Regions from separate parts of the Homo sapiens genome. Here regions 2, 3, 4, 5, 6 and 7 are each linked to region 1. Evidence: promoter capture Hi-C in human tissues and cell types (Jung and others, 2019). All regions are on one chromosome and are shown on one strand. The core of a region is centred on a gene start or on the middle of the fragment in contact, and the rest is flanking DNA. Distances in the headings are between cores, read along the strand shown.

Region 1 (3,560 bases), core at 388-2,887:
AGGGAGGCATGAATTATGCGGCTATAATGCAGAGCCCTACAATTAAGGCGGGAATGAGGGGCTGGAGGCAGCAAACGGAATCTGCCCTATGAGCGTGGCTGTTGAGTCCTGTCTCCTGGGTCTGACTTTCCGTAATATGATTGGGGTACAGTAGAGGTGATTAATGGGGCTGGCATCTCTCTTTGGCCTGAGGTTCTGTATTCTGGGAAAGGTACACAGGGTGGAGTAGGGAGAAGCTGCCCCAGGAGGCGATGTAGTGGTGGAAAGAAGAGGCAGAGAGGTCGTCGTCGTCGCCCAGCAGCAAGGGCTGCAAAATAGTAGAACTCGTGGTTGCTTTGGACAGGTGTGATTTGTGCAAGCCAGGTTCAACCCTTGCCTCAAGAAATCAGATGGGACCAATTTAGTGTCCTTCCACCTGTGAGCCAAGCCCCCATTTGAGGACATCTATCGTATTCTTGTGTGCTGGGTCTCAAATAGAATTTTTAAAGATTCTTAGATGTAAAACTTGTTTGCTAACTGCAACGGAAGAACACCTTCTTTTGCTGCTGCAATTGCCTACCCTCCCTCAGGTGCACTTGGCTAGCTCCAAGACCCTGGCTTTGGACTAGGGGGCACCGGAAGAGCCCTTTTGCCATCACACCACCTGTTCCTCTACTTGTTTCCTAATCCCCGGGCGCTTTCCTCCACCCTCCTTTCCTCGCGCAAGTGAAAGGCAGCCAGCTTGACAGTGTGGAAGGAGGGATTTCGCCAGCTGCGGCTGCAGTGCCCAGGCTTGGTGGCCGCGTCGGGTTGGGCAGCTGGGCAAAATGTCTCCGAGAGGGGTAGAGTGTAGGGGGAAGTGAGTGCTGGTAGACCTCGACGGCCGCTCTCCACCATACTGTGGCGGGGTCTGGAGGTTTGGGAATACAGGGACCTTAAGGGAGCCACCCGAGAGGAGTTGGGGGTGGGGGCTTCGATAGCATTTGGGGAGGCGGCTGCGCAACGGGTGCTGAAAGGACAGCTCCTACCTGACCCACGGCACCCAAAAGGCACCTCTGCATGGAAAGTCTCCCCCTGAAACCCCTAGCCCACCTCGAGTGGGACCGTCTTTCAGGTGAGGTGCACGAAAGGCTTCTCCGAAGTGGCAGCTCGGAAGGATGCACGTCCGGCTGCGCCAAGCTGGTTTCCCCGCCTTTTTCCCACTTTGGCGTCAGCCTGGGCTCTGGGAACTGCAGCCTGTGCCTCCAGCCGCGCGCTTCCTCCTGCTTCCAGAGGAGCAGGGCAGTGCAGCCAGGCCTCGCAAACCCCTCTTCTGGGGCCCCCAGCGGGAGCAGGAAGGAAAGCCGCTGAGATGCGCCGTGAGTGTCGCACGGCTTGGAGAAGTGGGTTGCTGGGTTGCATAAGGTGGAAGGAACTTGCTAGTTTGCAAAAGACAGCTCTTGGCGGGAGCCGGAACCCGGAGCCCGCCGACTCGCGCACCCCTCCTCATTTACTGCCTTCGACGCGCGCCACCCCGACTGCGCCCCCACCCCCTCGGCGCGCCGCCGTCTCCGCGCACTACCCCCCCCACACACCCCCCTCCTCACTCCCTCCAGAGGAGGTGAGTTTAAACCCCGCCCACGTGACCCCAGCTGGGCCAATGAACGGCGGCGGGAGGTGAAATCCGGTTCTAACCGGTCCGGGGCTCCCAGCGCTATAAAAACTTTATAAACCCCCCGGAGCCCGAGCAGTGTGAAGAAGAGGCGAGAACGACCCCCGGACCGACCAAAGCCCGCGCGCCGCTGCATCCCGCGTCCAGCACCTACGTCCCGCTGCCGTCGCCGCCGCCACCATGCCCAAGAGAAAGGTACGTGGCGCGAGGGCCCCAGGCGCCGGGCCACCACTGCCGCCACCGCCGCCGCCGCCTCCCTGGTGCAGGGAGCGAGAATCGGCGCCGAGCAGGAGCCAGCGCAGCCTCCCCGCGCGGGGGCTGGAGACGGTGTCGGGCAGCTCGGGGCTAACCCTGAGCGGCTCGGCTGCCCGCGGGCGCCAGAGGCCATATTGGAGGAGCGGCGGCCGCGGCGGGAGGAGCCATGTTGGCGGCTGTTTATCCCGCTCTCCTCGGGCTCGCCGCCCCCGCCCCGTGCCCCCTCCCCCATCGCGAGGGCCCCTTCCCTCCCCTCCCTGCGGGCGGGCAATTCAAACCCGAAAGGGCGGGAAGGCGGCGCTCGGGGTTGGCGGGCGGGGGAAAGCGCTGCCGCCAAAAAACCGCCGCCGTGAGGGGCGGGGCTTGTGCGGTATGGCCCCGCCCCCTCGCCCACGTTCCCCGCGCACGAGACGCGCGCTGTCGCCGCCCACGAGTTCCCCGGGCTGCGCGCGCCTCCCTCTCCCGCCCTCGACGGCTGCCATAGCAACGGCGCTGGGCTCCGCCTCCGGAGGGGGTTTGTTTGCGCCATCTGCAGCTGTTGCTCCTGCCTGTCGCGGTGGTGCGGGCTCCGCTGCCCTCCCCGGCTGCGCTCCGGTCCAGCCCTCGCTTCTCGGGGTCGGCGAGCCGGAGCTCCTGCGCGCGCTTCGTTCTTATACGAACGTCGGGCTCACTCATTTATGTCCTAGAAAAGTTGTGTGGACGACTGCTTTAATTTTCATTTTTAGCACTCTAAAGTTTGGGAAGTAATTAAGAACCACCTCAAAATCTGCAGTTTTTTGTTCTTGTTTCTTATAGGCTGAAGGGGATGCTAAGGGAGATAAAGCAAAGGTGAAGGACGAAGTAAGTCATTCTCTCTTCAAGGGTCAAAGCCTTGGACTAGCAGAGGCCACTGGACTCGGTGATTAACCGTAACCTGTGTCCTGAATTTACACTCCTATAATCTAGAGCAAATTGATACCAAACTTTCAAAGCGACTTACCTGTCCTATTTCTAACTTTCTCGTTGTCTTTAATAGCCACAGAGAAGATCCGCGAGGTTGTCTGCTGTAAGTGTATGCTTTTGAATTTTCGTGCTTGTCCCTGAAACTAAAAAACATCAAAAAACAATTCCCTTTGCTTCCATGAATTATGGTTAGTGCCTGGTTTTGAATCATTGCCTCTACTTGGGACTCTTGCCCCTTTGGGTTTTGCTGGTTCTGAAATTCTGATGCCTGTAGCCAAAGTGGGACATTTGAGTGGGCTTCTGGAAATCCAACATTCTAGAAGAAAGCCAACCACAAAAACTTTTGAGGAGGAGGAGAAACTTCTCTACCCTTGGTACTTTTGGTTGGTTGTGGGTGGTTTTCTTCAGTCCATTGTACTGATGTTCACTTTTTCCTCTCTTCCTGCCAAAAAAAGAAACCTGCTCCTCCAAAGCCAGAGCCCAAGCCTAAAAAGGCCCCTGCAAAGGTAAGTGCTAACATTGGAACTGATCATTTTCACAGAATGAGGACTGTCCTTAGTGCCTTAACTTAATTAGCATAATGGTGCCTCCATTAATGGAGGTTATAAACTGTGTGGATAGCTTACCTCGTCCGTGTCATTCATAACGTTGGTTTCCTGATCAAGAATTCTGTTGTTAGTTTATAGGAAAATCTGCATTTAAATATTAAATACCCCAGGGTTTAAACTAATTT
Region 2 (3,555 bases), core at 113-2,612, 230 kb before region 1:
GTAAGTGCAGAATGCATGTTAAATTTGTTGAATGAGTGACTGTTTCTGTAGTTTAAAGGGCTTTGAAGATGGAAACCAATCCTGTTGGGTGCTTTTTTTTTTTTTCCCCTCTGTCTGCCTCCATTCACTCCCTTTCTAAGCTTTATAACTGGTGTGTTACTTCTTGTACATTCACTTCTCTCATTTTTATCCCAGGAAATTTCTGTCTCCTTCAGTTGTCCCAAAAATTTCCACCAGTAGCTCATCTAATTCTTAAGTCAAGAATGATTTATTTTGTATTGTTTTACTCCTTACGGGGTTTCTTTCTTTCTGTTTTTCTTTTTTGAGATATTTGTTGTCAATGAGGGTCAGACTCTGAAATATTTGAAGGGATTTATTCTGAGCCAAATATGGGTGACCAGTGGCCCCTGACACAGCCCTCAGGTGATCCTGATAACGTGTGCCCTGGTTTTAAACATTTTAGGTAGACATGAGACATCAGTCAAATACATGTAAGATTTACATTGATCTGGAAGGGTAAGACAACTCTTAGTGGGTGGGGGCTTCCAGGTCATAGGTAGATTTCAAAATTTTCTGATTGGCAGTTGGTTGAAAGTTGTTATCAATAGAAAGGAATGTCTGGGTTAAGGTATCCTGGGGATCAACATTTTATTGTACAGATGAAGCCTCCAAATAGTAGGCTTTAGAGAGAATAGATTATAAATGTTTCTTACAGACATCTGTGTTAATGTTAATGCTTTTCCTAAATTCCAGAAGGGAGGAGGGTATAATGAGGGGTGTAGGACTCCACCACCACTACCACCATCATGGCCTTAACAGGTTTTTCAGCTTAACTTTGGAATGCCATTGGCCAAGGGGAGGGATCCATTCAGGTGGTTGGGGATGTCTTAGAATTTTTTTTTTGGCTTATATCACATAACATAAAATTTAATTTTATGTGTGTGCAATTCAGAGGTTTTTAATATATTGGCAAGGTTGTGCAGTCAGTCACCACTATCTAATCTCAGAACATTTTGATCACCCTGAAAAGAAACCCGGTATCCATTAGCAGTCCCTTCCTATTCTCCTACCCTCCCTCCTCTCAGTCCTTTGCAATCACTAATCTGTGTCTCTATGGATTTGCCTATTCTGACATTTCATATAAATAGGATCAAGCCTTTTGTTTGGCTTCTTTGACTTTGCATGTCTTCAGTGTTCATCCATGTTGTCACATGTATCAGTACTTCCTTTTATTGCTGAATAATACTCTGTTTTTTGGATATACCACATTTTATGTATCCATTCATTAGCTCATGGACGTTTGTGTTGTTTCCACTTTTTGGCTATTGTAAATAATGCTGCTACGAACATTCTTATTGAAGCTTTTGTGTAAACCTGTGTTTTCATTTCTCTTGGGTGTATACTTCAGTGTGGAATTGCTGAGTCATAGGGTAACTCGGAGTTCTCCTTCTGTCACCGTATTTTCAACTTGTCTGAATTTAGAAACACCTTAGAATCCAGTGCGCCTACCATTTTGTTATCCTTTAAAGAAAGGAGTGAAGAAAAGGATTTTGATATTGACAAGAAAGGAAATCACTAGTAAGGAGGTAATCTAATCATTCTATGTCATCATTTAACTCACTGAATCATACTTGCCATAAACTAAAGCTTTTATTACTGAACAAAGCTTCCCTCACCCAGTATGTGAAGAACTGGAATTGTGGAGGATGATACCCTTTCTATTGTAGATGCAGTGAATTAATAAGGGTTTGGGTTGTTATGTACTTTAGTGACCTCTATAGTATTCTCTTAGTAACAAGAGAATACTATAGAGGTCACTAAAGTACATTAGAGAAATAGTACCATATAGTCTTTTTTCTCCAGAGTGATAGAATTATGTTCTGTGAATTGTCCCAAACTCTTTTTTTTTTTTTTTTGAGACGGAGTCTTGCTCTGTCGCCCAGGCTGGAGTGCAATGGCGCGATCTTGGCTCACTGCAGCCTCCGCCTCCATGGTCCAAGCGATTCTCCTGCCTCAGCCTCCCAAGTAGCTGGGATTACAGGCGCCTGCCACCATGCCTGGCTAATTTTTGTATTTTTAGTAGAGACGGGGTTTCACCATGTTGGCTGGTCTCGAACTCCTGACCTCAGGTGATCCGCCTGCCTCGGCCTCCCAAAGTGCTGGGATTACAGGCGTGAGCCACTGAGCCCGGCCGAATTGTCCCAAACTCTTTTGGGGCTTTTATAAATTTAGAGTTTCTGAGTTGATACTCCTTGATCTTCCATGGGCTGTACAGTGCTACTTTTGTTGATGTAAATTGCCAAGTAATAACAGCACTTAGTATGTGTCAGGAACTGTTGTAAGTTAATTATAAGTGAATTAACATGAATTAGGTTGTGTTGTTATCCTCATTTTTATATGAAGAAAATGAGGAACAGAGATACTAAGAAATTTGCCCAAGGTTACACAGCTAATAAATTGATAACTTAATGTTTAGTGGGTTCAAGTGTATTTGTTTAGACTTCAAATCCACTTCTGCTGAATTCTCAGCACCTACCCCTAGTGTACTGTAAATATAAATATTTTAAGGAGTGAGAACATGGGACGAGAACTTCACGTTCCTAGCTCAGGATTGGAGTTCTACTTATGAGCAAGAATTCTTTCCCATCTTTTTACATCGTATGACTGACTTTAATTACTGGAAGAATTGAGGAATTTGTTTTGTGTTAATCATAATTGATGCTGTAATACTTCACTGTTGGTTTAGTTCTTTAGTTCTTTATCCACCTCGTCCTGTCATCAGGTCCCCATGGCTAAGAAGATTCATGGTAAAGTTTGTTAATTAAAAGTAATATTTTTAAATTTTATAAAAATCAGAAGGGTTCTAGGACCGTATGGAATCTGTATTGGTAATCTCTGGTTCTAGGTTTTCTATACTGGATTTGGGAAGAGAAGTAGAGTGGAGTATTGGGATTTACTTTGTCTTAAAAATATCCTTAGAAGTAAAACATGTAAAAACATATTTACTCCTAAATATCCTTAGGAATATAACATTTAGAATACTGGAATATTCTTTTTTATTTTTTTTGAGATGGAGTCTTGCTCAGTTGCCCAGGCTGGAGTGCAGTGGTGTGATCTTGGCTCACTGAAACCTCTGCCTCCCGGGTTCAAGCAATCCTTGTGCCTCAGCCTCCCAAGTAGCTGGGACTACAGATGTGTGCCACCATGCCCGGCCAATTTTTGTGTTTTTAGTAGAAATGGGGTTTCCCCATGTTGGTCAGGCTGGTCTCGAACTCCTGACCTCAGTTGATCTGCCCGCCTTGGCCTCCCAAAGTGCTGGGATTACAGGTGTGAGCCACTGTGCCTGGCCAAATACTTGAATATTCTATATGGTTTTGACAGTTTCAGTTGAATGGGAACTGAGTTGCGGGGAATTAAAGATACTTCAGAGAACTGACTGGTTATTCCTTCATTCTACAGTTGGCTTAAATAACTGTGATTGATGGCCATGCAGGAGAAATATCCAACTGAGGGGATCTCTCACGTCACTTCACCGAGTGAGTAGTCAGAAGTTTT
Region 3 (4,077 bases), core at 940-3,439, 220 kb after region 1:
CAGGAAATACTCCCACCTCAGCCTCCCGAGTAGCCACTGTACCTGACAAAATGAGGGATCTTGATCTGAGTGCTAGGAACTTATAAACAAATATTGAATCCAACAGGCTTGTACTATTTTGGAGGTATGTTTTTCCTTTTAAGTAGATATCAGCTTATAATGTACTTTATGGGAGGTACAACAGTAGTGTATACTCAATGTTGTATATCATAGTAGAGTAATTATAAGAGGATCTCCCATTTATAGTAAACTGAATGAAAGGATTGACATCCCAAACCAAAAAGTGGAAAATGGCAAACTGGTTTCAAAATATCATAGTGAAGAGATGGCTATTCTACTGGAGGGGACCCTCTGCTCTGATGCTTCTAAGCAGACATAGTCCTTATAACTGGATTTTGTGAGTCTATTTGAAATCCTGGTTATTACAGTTTATGAATGGATACAGCCATTTGGAAACCTGACTTAGAATGAAAGTCTAGACATTTGTCTCAAAAGTAGAGCTAGCTCTCAAACTATATGCTCCTTGCTTTGAATACTGAGTAGGGCATAAGCCTTTAACTTTCCTTTCCTCATCTCCTACTCCCACTCACTTCCAAGAAGAACACCTCTGTAGAGTTTTCATCTGTCTTTGTAGTACTCCATTCCTGTAAATTCCTTCTCCACGTTTTTGCTATTTCATTTAGTTTGGAAAATGGCAGTGTGGAATATGTTTGGTATAACCTTAATCCTGGCCAGCGTCTCTGATCCCTAAAAAAAAAAGTATACATACATATATATATATATAAAAATATATATATATTTAGAGAGAGAGCGAGTGTGTGTTTTCTGGGGTTAAAAACACAGAAGTAAAAACCTTAAACACAATAGAAAACAAACCTCCCTTATTATCCAGGTCCCCTGCATATTTTTAGTTGTTTAGAAAATGTTTCTCCTGGGTCGGGCATGGTGGCTCATGCCTGTAATCCCAGCACTTTGGGAGGCCAAGGCGGGTGGATTACCTGAGGTTGGGAGTTCGAGACCAGCCTGACCAACATGGAGAAACCCCCGTCTCTACTAAAAATACAAAAATTAGCCTGGCGGGGTGGCGCATGCCTGTAATCCCAGCTACTTGGGAGGCTGAGGCAGGAGAATCGCTTGAACCTGGGAAGTGGAGGTTGTCGTGATCCAAGATCGGGCCATTGCACTCCAGCCTGGGCAACAAGAGTGAAACTCCATTTCAAAAAACAGAAAAAAAGAAAATGTTTCTCCTGTTGTTCCTGTTAAATATTTCTCATATTTTGGCATCACACACAAAAATATGATGCCAGAGGTTTGTGTGTATGTGTGTGCATGTGTGTGGTGGAGGTGAGGGGGAGACTTGGTCCTATAGCACGGTGTGCAATGGTGAAGAACCTACTAAATTAATTAATCTTCACATTAGCAGATAACTGAGAATATGAATCACTCACAGGCAGTCAAAAGGTGATGTCAGTGAACAGTTATGGCACAGCATGACTGCTCCTGTTTGACACTGCATTTAGTCCTAGCACTACTGCTATTGCAGGGCTCTCCTATGAATTTTATTGTGGAATTTCAGAAATTTCTACTGCCAGTTGGGTGCAGTGGCTCATGCCTGTAATCCCAGCACTTTGGGAGGCCAAGGTGGGAGGATCATTTGAGCCCAGGAATTCAGACCAGCCTGGGCAATATGGCGAACCCTGTCTCTACGAAAAAATTTTTAAAAATTACCTGGATGTGGTGGCACATGCCTGTAGTCCCAGCTATTAGGGAGGCTGAAGCAGGAAAACCACCTGAGTCCAGGGAGGTCAAGGCTGCAGTAAGCCATGGTCACACCACTGAACTCCAGCCTGGGCAACAGAGTGAGACCCTGTCTCAAAAAATAAATAAAATAAAGTAAAATAAAATTCTACTGCCAAGTAGTAGCTAAATGTAATTCCCCCCCCCCGACCCCCCACCCAAGACAGAGTCTTGCCCTCGGGTGCAGTGGCACTATCTCAGCTCACTGCAACCTCTGCCTCCTGGGTTCAAGCAATTCTCCTGCCTCAGCCTCCCAAGCAGCTGGGATTACAGGCACCCGCCACCACGCCCAGCTAATTTTTCCATTTTTAGTAGACAGGGCTTCACCATGTTGACTGAGCTGGTCTCAAACTCCTGACCTCAGGTGATCCGCCCGCCTTGGCCTCCCGAAGTGCTGAGATTACAGGTGTAAGCCACAGTGCCCGGCGCTAAATGTAATTTCTATAGCATTAATAAGTATTCCAGGAGGTAGTTAAATCAAGGAACAAGGTACTTAATGAAGTTTTAAAATACAGCTTTGGAATGGTTATTATTAGCAATCATCATACTGTTAATTTCTAGTTGAAAGAATAACAGGCTCACAAAAATTTCTAAGTCTTAGGAGAAGACCGATTTTGGTGGAAAGTGGGTCAGAAGAGCATGTGCAACTCAAGGATTGCTGAGGATGAACAAGTGCATAGGGTAAAGTTGCTTCATCATGAAAGGTGAGTATTTAGGGTAGAGACTGCGGTCTTGGTCTACATTACTTGGTTGAGATTATAAAATGGTTTCTGTCGACCCTCTCTACAATCAGTGACAAATTGTACTAATAATGATGGACTCCTAAAAACCCTCAGTAGCCAATCAGGTTGCAACCTCCTTCACCTTGAAGCTTTTTCCTAGAGAATATTTTCTTTCCGAAGGTTGTGTGGTACTTCCACTCTCCTTGATTCCACCTTGGAAACACTGGCTACTACTTCATAAAGAACTGGAAGGTAGGTGTGGTGGAGTCAACTAGAATCCCTCTTTTCTAAACCCTTTGGACTTCCAACTTTATCTGGGCTAAAGGGGCAAACACGTTAGCCACAAACTCGGGTTTTTGTTAGACAGAGTATCCATATTTTATTTATTTATTTATTTATTTAATTTTTTGAGACGGAGTCTCGCTCTGTCACCCAGGCTCGAGTGCAGCGGCGTGATCTCGGCTCACTGCAAGCTCTGCCTCCCGGGTTCACGCCATTCTCCAGCCTCAGCCTCCTGAGTAGCTAGGACTACAGGCGGCCGCCACCACGCCCAGCTAATTAGAGTATCCATATTTTTAAGTAGCTGTGAGTGATTAGGAGAAAAATACTTCAATGAGCTCTTGGGCTTTGTTCTGAAGTCGAAAGGGCCTAGTAAAAATGTGTAATCTCCATCCTGGTTTTGGTGTTTGGGGCAAAAATAGTGCCTAATGTTGCACAACACTGTGTGCTCTTGAGTGTAGTTTGCGGATGAGTTATATTAATGAATACACATTGTGATAGAGGTGTGTGTGTGTGTTTCCGTGCTTTTTTTTTTTTTTTTTTTTTTGGAGACGGAGTCTCATTCTGTTGCCCAGGCTGGAGTGCAGTGGCACAATCTCGGCTCACTGCAACCTCTGCCTCCTGAGTTCAAGCGATTTTCTCCTGCCTCAGCCTCCTGAGTAGCTGGGATTATAGGTGCCTGCCACCATGCGCAGCTAATTTTTGTGCTTTTAGTAGAGACGGTGTTTCACTATGTTGGCCAGGCTGGTCTCGAACTCCTGACCTCAAGTGATCTGCCAGCCTCGGCCTCCCGTATTGTTTTTAAATGGCTTGTTGGATAGGCTTGATGAAGTGTGCTGGATTATTTCCTCCATTGTCTCCTGTTCTCTCCCTCCCACAGCAAGACTAGAAGAGCAACAACACACTTCTATACAGGTCTCTAGTAGTCTCTTTGGAGGGGTAGGCCAATAAGAACCAACCTGCTGGTCCCTACCCCCAACCCCTCTGGTGACTTCTGAATCCAGTTTCAATATTGTTAAATTTCAGGGAAGAAAGTGATAATGTGGAAAAGTGCCAAAACTCAGTCTGATTTTTCCTGGCAGCTTTCCCTTGGTGTCATTGGTAAGTTCCGCATTTCACTGGAGTGGAGTGCCACACTGCTACTATGACTATAGTAGTCACTCCCACGCCTGACTTTTTTGTTTGGTCCATTTTATCTTTAGGAATAGGCATTTTCTGTAGGGATAGATGGGTTTAAACCCTATTAAAGCTAGTCAGAATGTTTTTCATTAGGGGCCAC
Region 4 (3,550 bases), core at 945-3,444, 220 kb before region 1:
GTGGGAGCAGTGACCCTTGGTAAGAACTGATAACTATGGTGCTGTTATGGAGGATTTAAAACATATTGCTTATGGTTAAGCACGGTGGCTCATCCCTGTAATCCCAGCACTTTGGGAGGCCGAGACAGGTGAATCACTTGAGGTTAGGAATTCAAGACCAGCCTGGCCAACATGGTGAAACCCCGTCTACTAAAAATACAAAAATTAGCCAGGCATGGTGGCGGGCTCCTGTAATCCCAGCTACTCGAGAGGCTGAGGCAGAAGAGTCGCTTGAACCCAGGAGGCAGAGGTTGCGGTGAGCCAAGATCGTGCCACTGCACTCCAGCCTGGACAACAGAGTGAGTGAGACCCCATCTCAAAAAAGAAAAAATTGGGCCGGGGGCAGTGGCTCACACCTGTAATCCCAGCACTTTGGGAGGCCGAGGCGGGCGGATCACCTGAGGTTGGGAGTTCAAGACCAGCCTGACCAGCATGGAGAAGCCCTGTCTCTACTAAAAATACAAAATTAGCCGGGCGTGGTGGAGCATGCCTTTAATCCCAGCTACTTGGGAGGCTGAGGCAGGAGAATCGCTTGAACCCAGGAGGAGGAGGTTGTGGTGAGCCAAGATCGCGCCATTGCACTCCAGCCTGGGCAACAAGAGTGAAATTCCGGCTCCAAAAAATAAAACAAAAAATTGTATTGCTTACTAGTCTTTGAAGTCTTTATCACTAGCAGTCTGCCTTAACCTTGTGTACTAGTCCTATATTTAAGTTGTGAGACATCAGAAACTGGGTCCTTTAACTGAGAAATTTCTTTCTTGGTCCTGAGAGACTAATGCATGTTATCAGAACTTATTCAGGTTTTTGTTTTGTTACGTGTGTGTGTGTTTTTTTAGTGTGGCCTTTTATATATCCCCAAGATCATCTTCAGTATAGCAAATTAGATACTATGCATGTAATATAAGGCTTGCACGTCTTTTTTTAAAGTATTTATTCCTCCTGTCTAACCGAAATGTTTTACCCTTTGATCAGCATCTCTCGATTCCCCCTGCTCCCAGCTTCTGGTAACCACAATTATTCTCTCTGTTTCTATGTGTCGAGGTTTTTTTTAGCTTCCACATATAAGTAAGAACGTGCAGTATTTGTCATTTTGTGCCTGGCTTATTTCTCTTAGTGTCCTCCAGTTTCATCCATGTTGTTGCAAGTGACACAATTGACATCTTTTATAAGGCTGGTATTCCGTTGTGTAATATACTGCATTTTCCTTATCTGTTCGTCTGTTGATTCTATAACTTGGCTATTGTGAATAATTACTCAGTAAACATGGGATTGTAGATATCTCTTGGACATACATATTTCATATCGTTTGGATATATACCCAGAAGTGGATTGCTGGATCATATGGTAACTATTTTTAGTTTTTTGAGGAGCTACATACTCCATTGTTTTCCACAGTGGCTGTGTTACATTCCCCCCAACTGTGTACTAGAGTTCCCTTTTCTCTGCATCCTCTCCAAACTTGTTATCTTTCATCTTTTTTTTTTTTTTTTTGAGATGGAGTCTCACTCTGTCGCCCAGGCTGGAGTGCAGTAGTGCGATCCTGGCTCATTGCAACCTCCACCTCCTGGGTTCAAGCGATCCTCCTGCCTCAGCCTCCCGAATAGCTGGGACTACAGGCGCGTGCCACCATACCTGGCTAATATTTTGTATTTTTAGTAGAGACAGGGTTTCACCGTGTTAGCCAGGATGGTTTCGATCTCCTGACCTCATGATCCCCCCTCCTCAGCCTCCCAAAGTGCTGGGGATTACAGGCATGAGCCACTGCGCCCGGCCTCATCTTTTTCATCATAGCCATTCTGACAGGTGTGAGGTGGCTTGCCCATATTTTTAAAGAGTTGCTTAAGGCCGGGCATGGTGGCTCACACCTGTAATCCTAGCACTTTGGGAGGCTGAGGCAGGTGGATCACTTGAGCCCATGAGTTCGAGACCAGTCTGGGCAACATGGCGAAACCCCATCTCTCCTAAAAATACAAAAACTGAGGTGGGAAGATCACCTGAGCCTGGGGAGGTCGAGGCTGCAGTGAACTGTGATCACGCCACTGTGCTCCAGCCTGGGTGACAGAGTGAGACCCCATTTCAAAAAAAAAAGTTGTTTAATGAGAAGGTCGTAGCTGATCTATACTTACATAATTCTGGGAACAATTATAGTATTTGTTGTTGTTATCTGAGTGTTCTCTGTGTTGGTTGCTGGGGAGAAAAAGAAACAAGTTGGTAGTCGCTCTTCTCCGTGGTAGATATGCTTGATTTGGGAACGAGTACTGAATATAGTTGAAAAGAGAAGAAATTGGTATTCCTTATTTCCTTATTCAGTTTTCTGCCTGCTGAAAGCAATAAGTATGTTACCTCACATTCCTCCCTTATTGTTTGCTTGCAGTAGTCCCCCTCAGAGTAGTACTTGAAAGTTGGAAATAGGTAGAAATGTGAACCTTGTATAGTAGGGCTAATCAAGGGTTGTCTCCCAAGACCAGGCAGGAGCCAAAGGAAACACAAATTCAGTCTGAAGGAAAAGTTAAAAAAAAAAAAACACAGTTGGGTACACACAAGGGGGCAAGTGAAAGGCAAAATATAAAATAGAGGATTTCAGTGTGTACCCAATTGAGAGTGCTCACTGTGCTAGAGTGAAACCTGAGAGTTACTAAGAATAACTTCACATATCCAGGCAGTCAGGTTTGGGGTATGGGAGAGAGAACAGAATCCTGCCTCAGATGCCATACTCCCTGTCCTGCATACTGAGCAAGACTGTCTAGTTCGCTTCATTCTTCAGATAGTTTGGACTCGTTGCTCACCTTCCTGGGGGAGCTTTTGGAGGTCGCAGAAGATTCTGGTGACTCTTGGAAAGGATATTTTTATTAGATTTGATTATAGCTGAGAGTTGTCCAGCTTCCAGAAGAGTAGGACCTAACTCATTTTCCTTAAGTAAGTAATTTGTTTTAAAGTTTAAATTTTTTAAAAAACTTTTTAAAAGTTTTTCAGCTTTGTCTGTTGACTGACAAGATTTTTTTTATTCCAGTACAAAGGACTAAGTTAAAAGTGAAGTCATTATTGCCTTTTGTTAGTTTACCTTGTGAATGGCATTTGAGATCCTGGAACATACATCTCCCAGTTTGGTTGCCGTTTCTTTCTGCCTGATACTTTTGATGATGGTGCTCTCTCTGCTTGGTCTCAGGACAGGCCGAGAGCTTCTGGCATAGCATTCAAACTCAAGAAAGCTTGCTACTTCAATTTTTACTTATGGAAGACTATTCTCTCCCCAGATTTTTGCAGCTCAAGTGGCAGTCCTCCTTTCCAGCCCATCAAAAGCCACGTAACCATTCCAACAGCCCATGTGATGCCTTCTACTTTAGGGACCTCTCCTGCCAAGCCAAATTCTACACCTGTTGGACCCTCTTCCTCTAAACTCCCTTTGTCAGGGTTGGCTGAAAGTGTGGGAATGACAAGAAATGGAGACCTCGGTGCAATGAAACATTCTCCAGGCCTATCTAGAGATCTCATGTATTTCTCTGGTGCTACT
Region 5 (3,833 bases), core at 432-2,931, 160 kb after region 1:
TTGTGACACGTATTTTGCTCTGGTTGGAATGGGAAAGGTTAATTTGGTTCCCCCATGCAGCTAGTTGGGTGGCATCTTGCAAAATTGAGAGGCTTTTGCCTGTGGTTCCGTGAAATGGAAAACGATGATTTTCTTTCTTTCTTTCTTTCTTTTTGAGACAGAGGCTCACTCTGTTGCCCAGGCTGCAGTGCAGTGGCGCGATCTTGGCTCACGACAACCTCCACCTTCCTCATTCAAGCAATTCTCCTGCCTCAGCCTCCCGACTAGCTGGGACTACAGGCATGCGCCACCATGCCTGGCTAATTTTTGTATTTTTAGTAGAGACCAGGTTTCACTAAGTTGGCCAGGCTGGCCTGGAACTCCTGACCTCATGATCCGCCCGCCTCAGCCTCCCAAAGTGCTGGGATTATAGGCGTGAGCCACTGTGCCCAGCGATGATTTTCCTTTGTATTGTGGCTAGGCCCCCAGGGCTATGGTGCAGCAAGCAGGGTTGCTAGGGCCACTCAGGAAAAGGGAACCCGGCTGGGAGTGGTGGTTCAGGTTGAAGTCAGGAGTTCAAGACCAGCCTGGCCAACATGTACAAAAGTACAAAAATTAGCTGGGCATAGTGGTATGCACCTGTAATCCCAGCTATCTGGGAGGCCGAGGCAGGAGAATCGCTTGAACCCAGGAGGTGGAGGTTGCAGTGAGCCAAGACCGTGCCACTGCACTCCAGCCTGGGTGACAGAGTGAGACTCCATCTCACAAAAGAGAAAAAAAAAAAGGAAAAGGGAACCCCAGAAACCTGGCATGCTGGCAAAAGGGTAAGAGTTTCTTACCAGTCAGACTTCTGGCCTCTCCTCTGTGCAAACTGGTTGTGGGAACAGTAAAAATCATTGTCTCCTCTGCAAATTTTTGATTAATTAAAGATTCATGAGGCTAGTCTTAAGCTATAGCAAATGTGGTGTGCTTTGTGCTATGAATTTATCTTTCTGTATTGTTCTGTCATAAAAAGAAGTACCTTAGGATAGAACATGGACTTAGGGCCTCATAAGCCTGCTGTTCAAGCCAGCCTGGCAAACTGGTCAGTTACAAACTTTGTTGGAGGTCCCTGAAACAAAAACTGGATAAAATTTCCCTCTTGTCTTGTTTTATGTCCTTGGGAGCTTGACCTTGTAACCACGTGGTGGTACTTTCTCTTGGTTTCCGCCATCCAGAGGACAGGAATTTTGGAGTTCATGTCATAGTTAGCTCTAAAAATTATCTTGAGTAGTTAAAAGCCTTTGCAAGCTCAAAATTGACTGCTCTAGGCTCCGTCTGGGAAGAGCAATGGAAACTGCCTAATGCTGTAGCTTAGTAGCTAAGGTTTTGTCTTTTCACAATGGCACCCTGGGTTAAATTTTCAGCCTAGAGAATAAATACTTTCTGGTTGATATTTGTGTGACCTTTGCCACTTGTTGATTTCCTTCCCCTCTATGTACAACTTCTGACTTCCCATCTTGAATTTTTTCTTCTCTGAACACCTGGGAGGTTACCTTTGGTAAAGTTCAAAAGCCAGAAATATAGGCTGTTTGGCCTAGCTAGAGTCTGATAATAAAAGATTTGGTTAAGTCAGCTTAATTAAAAGTAGATATCCAAACTATGCATATATTAAAAGGTTTTTATGCTTTTTTCACTTCTTGGATCTTATTTTTCTGAAGAAAAAAAGTTCTTTTATTCTCAGTCAACTGAATTGTTTTTAAAGTATACTCCTACAAACAAAATTTGGAGCATCTTCCTTTCTCCCTGGTTTCTCCAAACTTTGGAAACTGTTTGTAAGTATTCTTACTTATGGCAATACAGTTATTTGCATAAGTGCAATAAGAATCTGTCTTTTGGCTGGGCGTGGTGGCTCATGCCTGTAATCCCAGCACTTTGGGAGGCCGAGGCAGGTGGATCACCTGAGGTCAGGAGTTCAAGACCAGCCTGGCAAACATGGTGAAACCCCATCTCTACTAAAAATACAAAAATTAGCTGGGTGTGGTGGCAGGTGCCTGTAATCCCAGCTACTCTGGAGGCTGAGGCAGAAGAATCACTTGAACCCGGGAGGCAGAAGTTGCAGTGAGCTGAGATCGTGCCACTGCACTCCAGCCTGGGTGACAGAGCAAGACTATCTCAAAAAAAAAAAAAAAAAAAAATCTGTCTTTTGTAACAGAACACAGTTGGAGATACTCATTAATTTATCAAGGCTTTGACTGAAATGGCATGCTTTCAGGTACAAACAGACTGTTTTAAGGAATTGAAGTTGACTTATAGAGCTAATAAAATCCCCTTGGGGGAGCTGGGCGCGGTGGCTCATGCCTGTAATCCCAGCACTTTGGGAGGCCGACGTGGGCAGATCACGAGGTCAGGAAATCAAGACCATCTTGGCCAACATGGTGAAACCCCGTCTCTACTAAAAATACAAAAAATTAGCCAGGCGTGGTGGCAGGTGCCTGTAGTCCCAGCTACTCAGGAGGCTGAGGCAGGAGAATGGCGTGAACCCAGGAGGCGGAGCTTGCAGTGAGCCGAGATCGCGCCACTGCACTCCAGCCTGGGCGACAGAGTGAGACTCCGTCTCAAAAAACAAACAAACAAAAAACCCTTGGGGGCTAGGCACGGTGGCTCACGCCTGTAATCCCAACACTTTGGGAGGCTGAGGTGAGTGGATCACCTGAAGTCAGGAGTTCAAGACCAGGCTGGCCAACATTGTGAAATTCCACCTCTACTAAAAATACAAAAATTAGGCAGGCATGGTGGCGCATGCCTGTAATCCCAGCTACTAAGGAGGCTAAGGCAGGAGATTTGCTTGAACCTGGGCCACGGAGGTTGCAGTGAGCCGGGATCATGCCACTGCACTGCAGCCTGGGTGACAGAGCAAGACTCTGTCTCCAAAAAAAAAAACACTTGGGGAAAAAAATGTTCTCATACCTTGTCTACGCAGGCCCTGTGCAGGGTTACAGGGTTCCTGACCTATGATGATAAGTAAAGAATGTCACGTTCTGACAAGCCTAGGAACCCCATGTTATCTTTGGACCTCAAGAGGAGAGGAATTTACCTTACTCATATAGGTATTTGATGGCACAAACCCATGGCCGAGCTTAAGGCTTTAAAAAGTCTTATCTTGCCAGGCATGGTGGCTCATGCCTGTAATCCCAGCACTTTGGGAGGCTGAGGCAGGTGGATCATCTGAGGTCGGGAGATCGAGACCATCCTGGCTAACACGGTGAAACCCCGTTTCTACTAAAAATACAAAAAAATTAGCCAGGCATGGTGGCACATGCCTGTAATCCCAGCTACTTGAAAGGCTGAGACAGGAGAATCACTTGAACCCGGGAGGTGGAGGTTTAGGTGAGCCGAGATTGCACCATTGCACTCCAGCCTGGGCAACAAGAGCGAAACTCTGTCTCAAAAAAAAAAAAAAAAAAATTCTTACCTGAGATTTCTCATGGAACAAAGTTCCATCAAAGCCAATTTACAAATGAGCCTATATGGGAAATTATTATTCTTGCTGTGCTTTATGCAAATAATCAGGCCAAGTATAATAAGACTAAAGCTTATTTTGCAAACAAATTAGTCCTATCATGATTTGTTTTTAATAAAAATGAGGACTGGAGAGAGAAAAATTATGTGTAGTTTTTTTTTGTTTTTTGTTTTTTGTATTTTTTGAGACAGAGTCTCACTCTGTCGCCCAGGCTGGAGTCCAGTGGCACAATCTCAGCTTACTGCAATCTCTGCCTCCTGGGTTCAAGCGATTCTCCTGCCTCAGTCTCCCAAGTAGCTGGGATTACAGGCGCCTGTCACTACGCCCAGCTAATTTTTTGTATTTTTAGTAG
Region 6 (3,969 bases), core at 867-3,366, 200 kb before region 1:
TATTTTAAAGTTTAACTTCCTGGTTCTCTTCGCCCTCTTGCTTCTAGTTTCAGTAAACAACCTTTTCCACCAGTTTTAATCAGTAGTTCACATCTGTTCCCCCGGTCACCTACTCCGTCCTGACTCATCCCGGTCACCTGCTTTGACCTGAGTCACCCTGGTCACCTGCTCTGACCTAAGTCACCTTTAATTACCTGTTCCTAACTGTCCTTCCCACCAAACTACTCACCCCACCACTCTGGCTCATAAACCTGTTCCCTTTAAAATAGCCAATCAGAATTAGCTTAGACTGTGTGGTTCAACCCTAGCCAATAGGGGAACGACATAGCAGTAGGGACTACCTGCGTCAGAAATAAGAACTCCTTCCCCTCCCCTGTCCAGTTGTGTTCTCACCATTGTTCCATCTGCGAGGAGCACCCTTTCTGCAGAAAGTAAAAATTGCCTTGCTGAGGAAATTAAATATAGGTTTGAGTGCTATTTCTTTGTGACACCGAGGAACAAGCATTTTGCATTTATAACACTTGGCTTATTTGACCTAAACATGGGATCCTGTCTCTCAGCTTAAGGATTCTGAGTTGAAGAGCACAGAGCTGCAGGAGAAAGTGACTGAGCTGGAGAGTTTGCTGGAGGAGACCCAGGCAATCTGCAGAGAGAAGGAGATTCAACTGGAAAGCCTGAGGCAGAGAGAAGCAGAATTCTCCTCCGCTGGACATAGGTAAATAACCCTGTGGGACTGAGAGGAGTGGAGAGTTAAGTTTTTTGTCATAGCCATCCTGCTCACTTACCTGTGTGACTTTGGGTGATTTGGGAAAATCATTTTACTTATCTGAGCTTTGTTTTCTTTGGACTGTGAATAATAGGAAAGCTGCTTATGGGAAGCGGCTTTTTTTTTTTTTTTTTTTTTTGAGACGGAGTCTTGCTCTGTCGCCCAGGCTGGAGTGCAGTGGTGCAATCTTGGCTCACTGCAAGCTCCGCCTCCCAGGTTCACACCATTCTCCTGCCTCAGCCTCCTGAGTAGCTGGGACTACAGGCGCCCGCCACTGCGCCTGGCTAATCTTTTTTGTATTTTTAGTAGAGACGGGGTTTCACCGTGGTCTCGATCTCCTGACCTCGTGATCCACCCTCCTTGGCCTCCCAAAGTGCTGGGATTACAGGTGTGAGCCACCGCGCCCGGCCAGGAAGCGGCTTTTATATCTTTGGCATGGAGTATGGATGCAGTGGGGGCTTATCTTCATAGCCTTTGTAAGGATCTAACCCAGTGCCTGGCACATAATTCTTAGTATGTATGTGTTGAATAAATGAAAGCACTTTGTAAACTGGGAAATGAGGTGTCTGTATACTTTCAAAAGTGGGTACTGGTGATAAGAACTGAGAGTTATCCACAGTTCGAGCTGTGTAGGCTAAAGGCTACCAGGAGCCTTTCTCCTCAGCCCTAGGGATTGTTCTCCATTGCCATGACAGGTTCTGAGAACAAAACAAGATGCCATAATGTACTCTCAGGATGTCTTGGGAGCCTTCTCCATATTAATAGCAGTTTCTGAAAATAATGGTGTGTTTCAACAGCCTCTTGGACCAAATCCAGTTTCTAATGGGATAGATTGGATTTCTCATCCCATATTTAACCACAGTGTCCCTGTTGTTTATCTCAGCAGATGGGCTTTGCTATAAGTAATTGTAGGGACCCACTGGAGGAAACCATTGGTTAGAGTCAGAAGTGGGGTTAGAGGACAAAGTTGGCTTTGCCCCAGACTGTGTGTGCCAAGAAAACAGCTTTTGTATTTTCCAAACTTTCTACAATGTACATGTATGACTTACAATCTAAATACATGTGATAAATATGTATTTTTTAAATATCAAAACAAAATACACAAGAGCCTTGGGCAGGTAGAGAATTGGTGTCACATTGTATAGATTCTGGCCCTTAGGGAAGAGAATTAACATACACTGAGCAGCTTTTGTGTGGCACCCCATATATTACAGCAGACCCAAGTATTATCCCCAGCTACTGCTTGGACTAAGTGTCTTGCCTCAAAATGTGCAATAAGTAGCAGAACCAAGAATCAAAGCCACTTGTGTCTAACTTCAGAGTTCTTGAAGAGGCCACTGTCTTTCAGCCTGCAAGATAAACAGTCTGTGGAGGAGACCAGTGGAGAAGGTCCAGAAGTGGAAATGGAGTCCTGGCAGAAGCGATACGATTCGCTCCAAAAGGTGACTGAGGGTGTCCAGGCTGTAACGGAGGGTAGGCTGGGAGGAAAGAGAAGATTGTGTATTAGGAGGGATACGTGAATTCTTGGCTTTGGGCTATCTAGGATTTGTTACCAAGAGCTTTTCTTTCTTTTCGGAGAAGTCACCCTGCATAGTAATTTGTATTTAGATAGTCATCCTTGTAACAGGCAAACTTCACTCATTTAGAATATAGGCAAAAGTAAGAGGAGGGGTGATATGCCTCTGAATATCTAGATTAGATGACCCAAAATGGTGCAGTAAAGTTTGGTGCACTTTATTCATGGCTCAGGCCCATACAGAAACCCTTGAATTGAACAGAGTTCTAACCAGTGAGGTGCCCTGGTTTCTTAATTCAGCAAAGACGAGAGAGCCAGGGGCCGGCTGGTGAAACTGACTGCAGGTTAGTAAAAAAAAAAGAAGACCCATAAATGATTCAAAGAAACCAGGCCTATTTAGGGTCCCTTCTTGGATAATCAGTACGACCAGAGCTGTAAATAACAACAACCATCATAGTGCTAGAAATGGCAAGCTTCATTAGACTGAATTTTTAGCCATGTCCTTGTACCAAAGAACAAGAGTTTGCACTGGCTGTTTATAAAATTGATTCCACTGGCCTGCAGTTATTAGGGTGAGAGTTCCCTTTCCCCCAGTAGTGGTTATGTGTTCACACTACATTCCTGTATAAACCTTTGTGATTGGAGCACAACTGTGAAGCTAGTTAGCCAGGATTAGGAGTCTGGTTTATATTCCTATAGGTAGAGTTCACTAATCTTTATCCTGGTCTTACTCTTAATGGTCTAATAGCCAGACCACATGTCCTAGTGCAGCCCCCTTGCCCTCTGTCCTCACCGTCAGCCTTGTGCTCGCAGCCTTCCTTGATAACTTTGCCTTTCAGATTGTGGAGAAGCAGCAGCAGAAGATGGATCAGTTGCGCTCACAAGTACAGGTGAGCAGGAATCCTTGGGACATGGTGGGCAGAACTTAATGATGGAATCTCTAGAATTTAGCCAATATTTATTTTGTTCTCTGCCATGCAGGTTGCTCAGTGTTAGGGATACAAAAAGAATGAGACCCAGTCAGTGCTTTTGAGCCTTGCTGAGAGGACACAAATATAGTAGGGAGTTTCAGCACAGTACTGTGAGAGCAGTCCCCACAGTATCCTGGGGGAGTGCAGGAGAGTCAGTGGGAGGAAGGGAGGTAAAAGAGAGGTTTCTGGAGATCCTGAACCTACAAGGATGAGGAGTTAGCCAGGCAAACAAGAGGAGCTGGATAGGATGTGTTGGATTCCAGATAGGAGGAACAGCATGAGTGGGAACATGGAGACATGAAACAGCATAGTTTGAATGTGGTGCTGCAAGCAGTTTGATACTGCTGACGTATCCACTTTAAGATGGTAAATGGAGACCTGGGCATTCCAGGCTATGGAAGGGCCTTATCTATCAACTAAGTTAGCTTTTATTCTTTATGTAGGTGGTGGGCATCTATTACAGCATTTTTTTTTTTTTTTTTTTTTTTTTTTGGAGACAGAGTCTCGCTCTTGTCGCCCAGGCTGGAGTGCAATGGCGCAATCTCGGCTCACTGTAACCTCTGCCTCCCAGGTTCAAGCAATTCTCCTGCCTCAGCCTCCCGAGTAGCTGGTATTACGGGTGCCCACCATCACGCCCGGCTAATTTTTGTATTTTTTGTAGAGACGGGGTTTCACCACGTTGGCCAGACTGGTCTCGAACTCCTGACCTCAGGTGA
Region 7 (3,876 bases), core at 895-3,394, 180 kb before region 1:
GCTTAAGGCAGGGGTAATTATTTTTATTTATTTGAGATGGAGTTTCACTCTTGTTGTCCAGGCTGGAGTGCAATGGTACAATCTTGGATCACCGCAACCTTGCCTCCTGGGTTCAAGCGATTCTCCTATCTCAGCCTCCTGAGTAGCTGGGATTACAGGCATGAGCCACCACACCCGGCTAATTTTTGTATTTTTAGTAGAGATGGGGTTTCATCATATTGGTCAGGCTGGTCTCGAACTCCTGACCTCAGGTGATCCGCCCGCCTTGGCATCCCAAAGTGCTGGGATTACAGGTGTGAGCCACCACGCCAGGCTGAGGCAGGGGTTATTTAGTTCCATTTTACACATGAGGAAACAGGCCCACAGAGATGAAAAATGACTCGTCCCAAGCCACTTGGTGAGAGGAGGAACTGGGAAGGGAGCCGGGGCTGACTCTCAAGTCTGTTTCCCCCACCCATCTGCACCATCAGGAGAGGGAGGTCAGAAGAGGGACAGATGGCTCTCAGGGAGGATGTAGGGACAGCTGCTGGCCAGAACAGATATGGGACAGACCTTAGGTTGTGCAACTATTTCTGGGTCACAGACCCCTTTGAGAAGCTGACAAAGCTCTGGCCTCCTCTTCTGAAACACGTGTGGCGCATACAGCTGTGTTCTGGCTTCAGGGGAGAATACGGAGCGGTGGGGACAGCCGTGACAGACAACAGAGCAGAAAGGTGGAGGGCAGGTAGATGCTGGCTGGGTACAGACCAGGGGCCTGTTCTGTCATCTTTGATGGGACCTGGCCCCCAAGTAAGTCATCTGTTTGGGTGTGCCCTACAACACACCAATAACTTTTGGGGCCTCAGAGAGGCTGTTTTTCAACAGGACAAGCAGGCTGCGGCAGGATGTGGGTCAGGGCTCTGGGGACCTAATTCCTTTCCTCTCAGTGGTGCAGTGGCTGTACCAGGGAGGTGCAGATGTGTTTCCTGTTGCTTTTGCAGCAGGTGAAATGGTAGGCCCCAGCTGGCCTTCTCCTCTCCCCTATATTTCCTACCATTGAAGGGGCTATACCTGCCCCCAGCCCCTCCGGGGGCTCCCCACATAGTCCCTGAGATTCCCAGGAAAAACTCGCCTAACAGAATGATACCAAGACACTTTTCTTTTAACAACTACCTTAAGGACAAATAGGCAAACCTAAAAACAATAGCAGAATAGATCATCTCATACAATGCCTGCCTCAACCCTTTTTTTTTTTTTTCCGAGAAAGGGTCTCCCTCTGTCACCCAAGCTGGAGTATAGCGGCACAGTCATGATACTGCAACCGTGACCTCCCGGGTTCAACTTATCCTCCCACCTCAGCCTCCCAAGTAGCTTGGACCACAGGCAGGCATCACCACACCCTGCTAATTAATTTAAAAAAAAATTGTAGAGATGGGGTCTCGCTGTGTTACCAGGGCTCTGTCTTCTTTATAGATGGGGAAAGTGAGGCCCAGAAAGGTCAGATGACATGGCCTGATCAGACCAGACAGAGCCAGGAAGAGCACCAAATACACCAACTCCTAATTCAATGCTCCTGCCGCCTCCCAGGGCCGGGGGTTTTTCAGGCTGATGAACATGGGTGGTTGACATGGGATGGGGTGAGACCAGGGAGGATGCCAAGAAACGACGAAGGGGAAGAGAGAAGCTTGCCAAGAAAATGGCCCTGGCTTAAAGAAGTAAAAGCAGGTGGCCCAGGCAGATGCTGGATATGATAGAGTGGAGATGAGACCAGGGGCCAGGAAGAAGGAACCACAGCTCTGGGCAAACCAGCACTGAGAGAATGAGGTGGGAAGAGCTACCACAGCAGGGCCTTGTGAAGCCAGTGAGCCCCCACCACCCCACCAGGGTTCAACTGAGGCCTGACCCGTGGATGGAGAGAGGTGCAGCTGGGGAGTCACACAGCAGGAGTAAGGTCAGAGGGCAAGTCCTAGGTCTGCCCTGAGCTAGCAGCAGAACTCAAATGGAAAGGCACTTCCTCTTTGAGCCACAGCCATCCTTTCTGTGCAATGGGGAGATGGTAAGAACCCTGTACTGCCTGCAAGATCCAGCTGGTGAACCTGTCTGTAAATGACAGCCCTGTGCCAAGCGCCAGGAGGCAGGCATCACCATTTCTGTTTTACAGATAAGGAAATTGGGCCTTATGAGCTGTCACGCCCCAGATCATGCAGCTTGCAGGGCCCAAGTGACTCAGCCTCAGTGCTCAGTGATCACATAGGCTGCCTCTCAATATTGGTTCTTGAGAGGCTGCTTACTGGGGTCCCTTTTCCAGGGAGAGTGGCAATGCTGGGAGATCACCTCTGAGGCCTCATCCAACTTTGAGAGCCCACGAGTGTATTAAAATGAGAAGGGAGCTCAAGTCCAAGCTCTTTGTCCCAACTCCCAAGACCCTTACTTAGCACCCAGCCAACCCTCAACATGCCCCTCGCCTTGCGCTCTGGTGGGCACTGGAGGGCACTTCCGAGCTCTGTAACCCTGGGCCTCTATGGGCCTCAGCTTCCTCTTCTGTACAATGAGGACGATAAAAGTTTCCACACTTCACAGGGCTGCTGTGAGGCTTGGAGGAAGCGTTTGGCAGATGGTGGCTGTTGTTGTCCCTAGCACCGCCTACTCATCGCTGGGCTCAAGCTGTGCCCACTCACCCCTACCTCCTCCAAGAAGCCTTGCTAGGAGCCACCCCCAACCTGCCTTGAGGCTGCATGCCTGGAGCCCTTGCACCTACTCCCTTGGCCCTCGTCACAGGCCGCTGCTTTCTGCTTGCTTGTTTGCCTTCCAGCCATGCTGGGCACCCCTTGAGCTCAGGAGCATTGAGCCCTGGGCCTGGCCCAGAGTGGCTGGGCCACTAAAAGCAGGGTTGGATCCTGCTTTCCAGAAATGTCTGAGCACCCGTGCTCTGCTAGGCCCTGCCCATCATGGCGATGCCCACGCCCAGGGTCCTGCCATCCTCAGGCTCAGACTCAAGTGAAGAAGACGGGGCGGCAAATGGCGACAATGGCATGTGTAAGTATCACTGTGGGGGCTGTGGAGCCCAGAAGAGGGCCAGACCCTACCATGCTCAGTGGAGAGGTGGCAGCCCCTCACTGCACAAGTGCCCAGGGCACCCCGGCAGCTCACGCGGTGCCGCCCTCCATGTGCCTGCCCTTGACCCTCAGGCAAAGACGGCTGCAACAGGAAGTGGAACCACTATTACCACACACCTGCAAGCCAGGCCCCGCTCTGGGGACTTTACTGCAGTCACTCTGCTCTTCAGAGGAGCCAGTGCAGGAAAGGAGGCCCTGCAGGTCTGGTCCCCGCCAGAACACTCAACCAGCCTGTGGACTGGCAGGATCTGAACTCAGGCCTGCCGGGTCCCACCTGCAGCTCTCTCTGGCCCCTGCCATTGAGCTACGCACCACCCTGTCCCCACCTCATCATGTGCAGATGACTGTTCCAATGTGCTCTGATCATCCAAGCCTGGGCACACGGGCATCACAGCCAATCACATGCAGCTACACACACCCTTGCCCATGTGCCAAGCACTGGGACATGCATGACAACAGCTAGGTGACAGTGGCTGTCACAGTTTATTACCACATCCATTCAGTGGCCCTAGGAGCCCGTCAGCACGACTGAGGAGGAAATGAACTCAGAGGGGGTCAGCGATCTGCTGATCTGGGGTCTGACCCGACCTGAACCCTGCCTCAGCCAGAGCTTTTAGCCCCTTCCCTCAAGCAGAGCCCTCCCCACAGAGCAGCACAGCCCACACAGGGCAGTCAGAGTTTGCTGGCGGAGGTTGGATTTGCCCTGAGCTTCAGAGGGGAGGGAAGCGGGCAAGGCGCTCTGTGGGGACAGAGCAGGAGCAAAGGCTGGAGGCAGAAGTGC

Evidence for each region. Contacts are between HindIII fragments. The study calls those that stand out against the background at their distance.
Region 2: a contact is called between a fragment that was not itself captured here and the fragment with the promoter of HMGN2 in region 1, in 8 of the 25 tissues and cell types used here (IMR-90 fibroblasts, adrenal gland, dorsolateral prefrontal cortex and 5 more).
Region 3: a fragment that was not itself captured here is called in contact with the fragment with the promoter of HMGN2 in region 1 in 5 of the 25 tissues and cell types used here (dorsolateral prefrontal cortex, hippocampus, liver and 2 more).
Region 4: a fragment that was not itself captured here is called in contact with the fragment with the promoter of HMGN2 in region 1 in 3 of the 25 tissues and cell types used here (adrenal gland, heart right ventricle and neural progenitor cells).
Region 5: a fragment that was not itself captured here is called in contact with the fragment with the promoter of HMGN2 in region 1 in 1 of the 25 tissues and cell types used here (H1 embryonic stem cells).
Region 6: a contact is called between a fragment that was not itself captured here and the fragment with the promoter of HMGN2 in region 1, in 1 of the 25 tissues and cell types used here (H1 embryonic stem cells).
Region 7: a contact is called between a fragment that was not itself captured here and the fragment with the promoter of HMGN2 in region 1, in 2 of the 25 tissues and cell types used here (adrenal gland and ovary).

What each region holds. Positions count from the first base shown.
Region 1 is chr1:26,470,803-26,474,362 of GRCh38, forward strand. HMGN2 (high mobility group nucleosomal binding domain 2) reads left to right here and starts at 1,638. Exons shown (of 6, transcript NM_005517.4): 1 at 1,638-1,825; 2 at 2,681-2,725; 3 at 2,901-2,930; 4 at 3,283-3,333. The coding sequence starts at 1,811. It overlaps DHDDS (dehydrodolichyl diphosphate synthase subunit), which reads left to right. Exons shown (of 9, transcript NM_205861.3): 9 at 1-504. RefSeq lists enhancers at 245-953, 954-1,663 and silencers at 1,033-1,448, 1,333-1,602, 1,863-2,152, 2,193-2,362. The HindIII fragment of the contact is 14,054 bases long and covers 1-3,560 here.
Region 2 is chr1:26,236,303-26,239,857 of GRCh38, forward strand. CEP85 (centrosomal protein 85) reads left to right here. Exons shown (of 14, transcript NM_001319944.2): 2 at 3,460-3,536. The coding sequence starts at 3,482. Among named protein-coding and RNA genes, the nearest start is that of CEP85, 3.9 kb to the left of the region's middle. The HindIII fragment of the contact is 3,847 bases long and covers 1-3,286 here.
Region 3 is chr1:26,686,467-26,690,543 of GRCh38, forward strand. It overlaps LOC105376888 (a long non-coding RNA gene), which reads left to right and starts at 2,716. Exons shown (of 3, transcript XR_001737950.2): 1 at 2,716-2,771; 2 at 3,825-3,899. The HindIII fragment of the contact is 5,506 bases long and covers 1-4,077 here.
Region 4 is chr1:26,251,878-26,255,427 of GRCh38, forward strand. It overlaps CEP85 (centrosomal protein 85), which reads left to right. Exons shown (of 14, transcript NM_001319944.2): 4 at 3,294-3,550. Among named protein-coding and RNA genes, the nearest start is that of CEP85, 19 kb to the left of the region's middle. The HindIII fragment of the contact is 5,989 bases long and covers 1-3,550 here.
Region 5 is chr1:26,630,967-26,634,799 of GRCh38, forward strand. No RefSeq gene overlaps it. Among named protein-coding and RNA genes, the nearest start is that of ARID1A, 63 kb to the right of the region's middle. The HindIII fragment of the contact is 4,824 bases long and covers 1-3,833 here.
Region 6 is chr1:26,268,900-26,272,868 of GRCh38, forward strand. CEP85 (centrosomal protein 85) reads left to right here. Exons shown (of 14, transcript NM_001319944.2): 9 at 561-715; 10 at 2,115-2,208; 11 at 3,122-3,172. Among named protein-coding and RNA genes, the nearest start is that of SH3BGRL3, 9.2 kb to the right of the region's middle. The HindIII fragment of the contact is 3,763 bases long and covers 236-3,969 here.
Region 7 is chr1:26,286,684-26,290,559 of GRCh38, forward strand. The region is part of intron 8 of UBXN11 (UBX domain protein 11); the gene reads right to left. Among named protein-coding and RNA genes, the nearest start is that of SH3BGRL3, 8.5 kb to the left of the region's middle. RefSeq lists enhancers at 2,764-3,043, 3,054-3,193, 3,070-3,876. The HindIII fragment of the contact is 5,264 bases long and covers 1-3,876 here.